2 separate regions of the Homo sapiens genome follow, and region 1 is linked to region 2. The links are contacts of gene promoters, found by promoter capture Hi-C in human tissues and cell types (Jung and others, 2019). All regions are on one chromosome and are shown on one strand. Each heading gives the region's core, a stretch centred on a gene start or on the middle of the fragment in contact. The rest is flanking DNA. Distances are from core to core; before and after follow the strand shown. Region 1 overlaps NHSL3 (NHS like 3). Region 2 holds the start of RNF19B (ring finger protein 19B).

Evidence for each region. Contacts are between HindIII fragments. The study calls those that stand out against the background at their distance.
Region 1: a contact is called between a fragment that was not itself captured here and the fragment with the promoter of RNF19B in region 2, in 1 of the 25 tissues and cell types used here (liver).

The regions. Positions count from the first base shown.
Region 1 is chr1:32,765,988-32,769,680 of GRCh38, forward strand. It overlaps NHSL3 (NHS like 3), which reads left to right. Exons shown (of 7, transcript NM_020888.3): 2 at 1,800-1,970; 3 at 2,075-2,130; 4 at 2,665-2,788; 5 at 3,686-3,693. Among named protein-coding and RNA genes, the nearest start is that of NHSL3, 26 kb to the left of the region's middle. RefSeq lists enhancers at 1-547, 548-1,441, 3,488-3,693. The HindIII fragment of the contact is 8,899 bases long and covers 1-3,693 here.
Region 2 is chr1:32,963,528-32,967,083 of GRCh38, forward strand. It overlaps RNF19B (ring finger protein 19B), which reads right to left and starts at 1,282. Exons shown (of 9, transcript NM_001300826.2): 1 at 524-1,282. The coding sequence starts at 1,158. RefSeq lists silencers at 427-636, 997-1,566 and an enhancer at 877-1,381. The HindIII fragment of the contact is 6,156 bases long and covers 1-3,086 here.

The DNA.
Region 1 (3,693 bases), core at 553-3,052, 200 kb before region 2:
CCGCTTTGTTGCTGCCTTTGTCTGGGCCCTGCTTGTGGGTTGGGAGGATGGATCCAGGTGTCTCTGACCTTGAAGCCTGCAGCCCTCCCGTGAGACTTGCCTCCCTGCCGGGGTACCCACACTTTACTGGGTACAGCCTCCCAGTCAAGATGTACTAGCCTTTCCTAGTGTGCCGGGGAGGATGGGACGTGGGCGGCCCAGAAGAGAGGAGAGTAGTACCACTGGAAGTTGGGAAGCCTGCTCAGTGAAATCCTGTTTAGAGGCCTGGGAATGGAGAAGTTTTGGAGGGAGGGGCCTGTTCCTCCTTCCTTCTCCTAGGAATTGGGCTTTCAGACCTGGATTAAGACATAGGGACAAGAGTTTATTGGACTTTTGAGGGTTGGGGGCCCCTACTCTGAGTGTGATCCGGGAGTCCCCTCTGGGAACCTGGAGTTGAGTCCAGGGTCAGTCTGACTCCTACTGCTGGGTGACCTTAGGCAAGGCCTTGCCCCTTTGAACCGTTTCCCCACTTGTAAAATCTGGGGATCTCGGGCACTGGTCTGGTTGGATCTGTTGGGGGCCTCCTAGCTCTGACCTGTGGGATTCCTGCAGACTCCCTAGGGCAGGAGCTCTGGCTGTTGACGAATGGGCTGAGGGAGGAGGAAAGGCAGGTTTCTGAACTGAAGACCCTGCTCCTGGAGCATGGCCCTTTAAAGGGCTTGTTTTGTTCCCGTCCCTTTATAAGGTGTTACCAAGGTCACATGACCCTTCCAGCGCTTTTGCTTATGTTGTGGGTTTCATTTAAAGGGGGGGCTGGGGCTGCAAAGTGCTGACACAGCCCCCCATCCCCAGGATTAGATGGCCAGCCCCTCCACAGGCGGGGCTTGTAACAGGATCCTTTGTAATGGATCCCTGGCTCCTCTGCAACAGGGGCCAGGGCCAGGGCCAGGGCCTCCAGGAGAGGGGGATACCTGGGACTATTTCCCCAAGAGAGACTGGAGCTCCCTTGGGCGGGTGGAGGGGCCTGGGTCTTTCTTCTCCCCTCCCCTGCCCATCCTTCCACTAAGGGGCAGCCACATGGGTGAGTAGGGGACCCAGGAGGCTATCTCCTTGGTCTGCATCCCCCCTAGGATTTTCTGGGAATATGGTTGTAACTCATGCCAGCTGTCTCTCCTTCCTGATTTCCCGTGATATCTTCTTCCTGGACCTGGTTCAAGTGGTGGCATGAAAAGAGTGGTTTGTTTTCCTGTGAAGTGGGGTTTTGGGTATGGAGGCGAGAGCAATGTATTTACTATGGGCTATGTGTATACTCGGGATGTTTTTTGTGGGGCTCTGAGTGACGTGTGAGTACATAGTCGTGTGTATACTTGGTTACTGTTTGTGTATATACAGAGCAGGGACTGTGGGTGTTGTGTGTTTACGTGCGGGCTGGGTGTGCTTGGTGTGTGTACCTATGTGTGTTTATACTCGGATGCCCTTTGTTTATATACATGAATGACATCTGTGAGTGCTGTGTACGTACACAGTAGACCTGTGTACCTGTGTGCCCTGTGTGTGGGGCCTTATATGGGGCCCTTTGTGTGGTGTGGGTACTCAGATTTATGTACACTTGGGTGTAGTTTGTGTATATGGGGGCTGTGTGTGTTGAGTGTTTACTCCAGAACTGTGGGTTATGTGTCCAGACTGGGGAAGGGGGCATTGCTTGTATATGCAATGGCCGTGTGCAGTCTGGGGACCATGACTGCCCTTGCCGTGAGACCTGTGCCCCTGCAGGGCCCAGATGCCTTTACCTCATTTCCCTTCCTCCTCCCTCCTACTAGGCTCTGCCAAGGCTGAGAATGACAAACATCTAAGTGTAGGGCCTGGCCAGGGGCCAGGGTCTGCAGTGGATGAGCACCAGGACAACGTCTTCTTTCCCAGTGGGCGACCCCCCCACCTGGAAGAGCTGCACACTCAGGCCCAGGAGGGGCTCCGCTCCCTACAACACCAAGGTAAGCTTCCTCTCCACTCCCCTCCCCTCTCCTCCCTCCAGTGCTGCACTGTCAGCTGTCAAGGTCAGGGGCCTAACCCAACAGACCCTTCTGGTGTCTTCCAGAGAAACAGAAACTGAACAAGGGTGGCTGGGACCATGGAGACACCCAGAGTATCCAGGTGAGCCCTGCCTCCAGCTCAGTCCTGACTCTTCTCTACCTGCTTGACCCCTGGCAAGGATGTCTTGGAACATTTCTGGGTCTCAGTTTCTTTATCACAAAGGGCTACACTAAATGAACCCTGAGGGCTAGTTCAGGGTTGCTCAGTGCTAGGTGATGCTGGAGGGGATCTGTGACTCAAAAGTTCGAGTGGGAGGCTGGGCGAGGTGGCTTACACCTGTAACCCCAGCACTTTGGGACGCTGAGGTGGGCGGATCACTTGAGGTCAGGATTTTGAGACCAGCCTGGCCAAAGTGGTGAAACCCTGTCTCTACTAGAAATACAAAAATTAGCCAGGCATGGTGGGAGGGTACCTATAATCCCAGCTGCTTGAGAGGCTGAGGCAGGATAATCGCTTGAACTTGGGAGGCGGAGGTTGTGGTGAGCCAAGATTTCGCTACTGCACTCCAGCCTGAGCTGGATTTGTCTCAAAAAAAAGTTCCAATGGGGAGCCTTGAGGAGACAGCCCCACCCAGATCTCCTTCTACCCTGATAGTCCTCCCGGACGGGGCCGGATGAAGACAACATCTCCTTCTGCAGTCAGACCACATCCTACGTGGCTGAGAGCTCCACAGCAGAGGACGCGCTCTCCATCCGCTCGGAGATGATCCAGCGCAAAGGTGGATTCATGGGCAGGGGAGAGGGACAGTGGGCTCCATTGGGTCCCAGCATCTGTAGCTTCTTTTCCTCCTTATCCAGTGTTTCACCAGGCTCTCTGATTCAATGAATTCGGGAAACACAGTACCCTGTGTCCTCTTGCACATTCGTGATACACACTAACTATAAAGCAGTTAAGAGTTAGAAAATCTTGGCGGCCGGGTGCGGTGGCTCACGCCTGTAATCCCAGCACTTTGGGAGGTCGAGGTGGGCGGGTCACGAGGTCAGGAGATCGAGACCATCCTGGCTAACACGGTGAATGAAACCCCGTCTCTACTAAAAATACAAAAAATTAGCCTTGCCTGATGGCGGGTGCCTGTAGTCCCAGCTACTTGGGAGGCTGAGGCAGGAGAATGGCGTGAACCCAGGAGGTGGAGCTTGCAGTGAGCCGAGATTGCACCACTGCACTCCAGCCTGGTCGACAGTGTGAGACTCCATCTCAAAAAAAAAATAAAAAAAGAGTTAGAAAATCTTAACTGTTGGAAGCCTGGTGTAACTAACTAGTGCCAGCTGTGTGACCTTGGGAAAACCCTTAACCTCTCTGAACTTCTGTTTGATGTTCTATAAAAATGAGGATAAGTACCCTATTGGAATGAATGCCAAATGTTTAGAATGACGACTAACACGTAATAATATGTTTACTAAATAGTAAGCTATCACTAAAGGGAAATTACCATCATTGACTTAGTAGCCTTAGTCTTACAGAAAGAAGCCTCTAGCTTTGTTTAACCTAGCCTTGCCCATACCTACTTGACTGTGGAAACCATTTCTCGCAGAGCTCTTATTACAAAAGTAGTGCCCTGCAGAATGTGCCTGGAGTCCTTTGCTCTAACAGTTTTTCTCCCACGACTGGCCCCCAGGCTCCACC
Region 2 (3,556 bases), core at 32-2,531:
CAACATGGTGAAACCCCATCTCTACTAAAAATACAAAGAAATTAGCCGGGTGTGGTGGCGGGCGCCTGTAATCCCAGCTACTCGGGAGGCTGAGGCAGGAGAATCGCTTGAACCTGAGAGGCGGAGGTTGCAGTGAGCCGAGATCGCGCCATTGCACTCCAGCCTGGGCGGCAGGGCGAGACTCCGTCTCCAAAAAAAAAAAGAAAAAAAAAAAAAGATACTGTCCTCACCTCCGGACAGAGGGCATTCCCCCAACAAAAAAACCGCCTCTCCCTGTCTCCTAACTTGGACAGCTCCCTTCCCCTCACCGAATGCTTAGCAGCCACCTCGAGCCCTGGGGCAGGGGGCGGGGTGTCGGGTGCGTTCACACCACTAGTCTGGGCTTGCCTGATGGTTACCACCCCGCCGAAGCTGCCGCCTTGCGGGTTTCCCTGCTTGGGACACCCACGCGGGGTCCCTGCTGCCCCCAGCCACGCCCCTCGGCTGCAGCCCGCCGCCACCCGCGCCACGCCCCCGCGCTCACCCGCAGTCCGGGGCCGGGCACCAGCGGCAGTCGGGGTCCGAGGCTAGGTAGCGGCGCAGCATGAACTCCTCGTACTTGTGCATAAGCGGCGGGTCGGCGAGCAGCAAGCGGATGTCGTGCGGGTTGAGTCGCTCGCTGCACTCGGGGCAGCTGATGGGCACCCTGCTCTCGCTTATCTCCAGGCGCAGGTAGTGGCGGAGGCAGTCCCGGCACGAGCGGTGCGGACAGCTGAGGAGGCGCGGGGCCCGCTCAGGCGGCAGCCGCACCAGGCACAGCGGACACTCCACCTCCTCCGCGCCCGGGCCACCGCCCTCCGCCGCCTCCTCATCGTCGAACCCAGGCTCCGCCGCCGCCGCCGCGGCCTCCGCCTCGGCCTCGGCGGCCGGCTCGGCGGGCAGCGCCTCGGGCGGCGGGCCCTGGGCCGCGGCAGGGGCCGGGGCGGGCGGCGGCTGCGCAGCCGGGGGCGGCGGCTCGGCCTGCGGCTTGGCCCGGGCGCGGCGGCCGCGGGCCGAGGCAGAGAAGACGCTGTGCAAGGTGAGGCGCCGGCGCCGGCCGCCGCTGCGGCACTTAGGGTCGGGTGCGGCCGCATGTAGCGATGTGGAGCGCGGCGACTCGGAGTCCTTCTCGGAGCCCATGGCCGGCAGAGGCCGAGGAGCCAGGGGCGCCCAGCGCCGCCACAGCTCCCGCCTCAGCGCCCCTCAGCCAGCGCCCGGCCGCCGCCGACGCCGCCACCACCGCCTCAACCGCCCTCCCGGCGATAGAAGCCGAGCGGCAACGACGAAGTGATTATAAAGCCTCCGCCCCGCGCGCCGCTGCCCTGCGCAGGCGCTTCGCTCAAACACCTCACAACCCTTGCGCCCCGGTCTAGGAGTGCGCTGGGCAGGGCCGAGCGGGGTGGGGCCGAGCGAGCTGGGGCGGAGCTCCGCCTCCTGCCGGTCAGGTGGTTCCAGGGCCGCCATGTTGCGGAGACTCTCAGAGATCCTAGCCCGCTGCTCTCCCTGGTCTCCGCCTCCAATTCCATCACCATGACACCCAAGGTGGACTTTTTGGTTTGCCGTTCCTCACAGGTTGATTGCCACTTCCAGTAAATGATGGTTCAGTTACATTATTTATAAAAAGCAGGCAGGGGTTGATCAGATGGTGACTCCCAACTGGTTCACCTTCCAACATTTCTGTTTATTAAGCAGACGGCATAAATTAATAAAGAATATATTCATTCACTGAGCTTCTACAAAGTGCGAGGCATTAGAAAATAAAACAGACAAGGTCCCCTATTGCAAGGGACTTCCAGAATAAAGTCCAAATTTCTTAGTCTAGCATTCAGTGTTCTCTATGTATTTAATAAACCCTATGTATATAATAGTCTATTTCTAGGCTCACTTACCATTCTATCCTCCTGGTATCTTGCTTACTTACCAAACTTGTGGAAGGAGACCCAGCGTTTTCTTGCCTGGCAGTGCCTTTGCCTTTCTTTTTCTAGTTCCCCATTCCTCTGACTGGGGGAGGATCTGGACCCTTAGGCTTCCTAGTGGGAGGCAGGCAAACAGCTTCAACAACAGGAATGTATCAGGATTACATTCAATTGCAAATAACAAAAGAAAAAAATAGCTTACGATTGAAATTTATTTATTTTTTTTCCTGAGACGGTTTTGCTCTGTCACCCAGGTTGGAGTGCAGTGGCGTGATCACAGCTCACTGAAGCCTCAACCTCCCAAGCTTAAGCGATCCTCCCACCCCAACCTCTGGAGTAGCTGGGAGCACAGGTGCGCCACCAGGCCTGCCTATTATTTTTATTTTTTTCATGGAGATGAAATCTCCCTGTGTTGCTCAGGCTGGTCTCGAGCTCCTGGGCTCAAGCGATCCTCCTGCCTTGGCCTCTCAAAGTGCTGGGATTACAGGCATGAGCCGCTGCACCTAGCCAGAAATTTCTCTCTTTCCATGAAATATAAGTCCAAAAGTAGGCAGTTCAGGGCTGTTCAGCCATCCTCAGTATTTGGCTTCCAGTGTTAAGGTCACCTCACTATGGTCCATATTCCAAACAGTGGGAAGGAAAAAGGGAAGAAAGATGCATCCTCTTCCTTTTAAGAAGACTGCCTTGGGGCTGGGCGCGGAGGCTCACGCCTGTAATCCCAGCACTTTGGGAGGCCCAGGCTGGCGGATCACGAGGTCAGGAGATGGAGACCATCCTGGCTAACACAGTGAAATCCCGTCTCTACTAAAAATATAAAAAATTAGCCGGGCGTGGTGGCGGGCGCCTGTAATCCCAGCAACTCGAGAGGCTGAGGCAGGAGAATGGCGTGAACCCAGGAGGCGGAGGTTGCAGTGAGCCGAGATCGCGCCGCTGCACTCCATCCTGGGCGACAGAGCGAGACTCTGTCTCAAAAAAAAAAAAAAAAGAAAAAGAAAAAGAAAGAAAGAAAAAAGGACTGCCTCGAAAGTCCCGCACATTTTTGCCAAAACATACTCACTCACATGGCCATACTCAGCTGCAAGGGAGCCTGGGAAACATTCTCTTAACTGGGTACAATGTGCCCAGCTAACAATGAGTGCTCTGTTATTAATAAGGAATGGTAAGATGGGCCAGGAGCTGTGGCTCGCACCTGTAATTACAACACTTTGGGAGACCTAGGCTGGTGAATCTCTTAAGCCCAGGAGTTTGAGACCAGCTTGAGCAACATGGCAAAACCCCATCTCTACAAAAAATACAAAAATTATCTGGGTGTGATGGAGTGTGCCTGTAGTCCCCGCTACTTGGGAGACTGAGGTGGGAGGAATGCTTGAGCCTGGGAGGTTGAGACTGCAGTGAGCCGTGATTATGCCACTGCACTCCAGCCTGGGTGACACAAAAAGACATCGTCTCAAAAGGTGGAAACCAGCTGTGATATTTTAAACCAGGTCTCCAGAACTTCAAACTTTTGACATAAAACAAGAAGGGGAGCCAACAAAGAAAACTGAAAAGCGGGGGCCAGTGACATAAAAGAAAAACTAAGCAGGCATGATGTCACAGACACCAACATAGTATGTTCCCAGAAG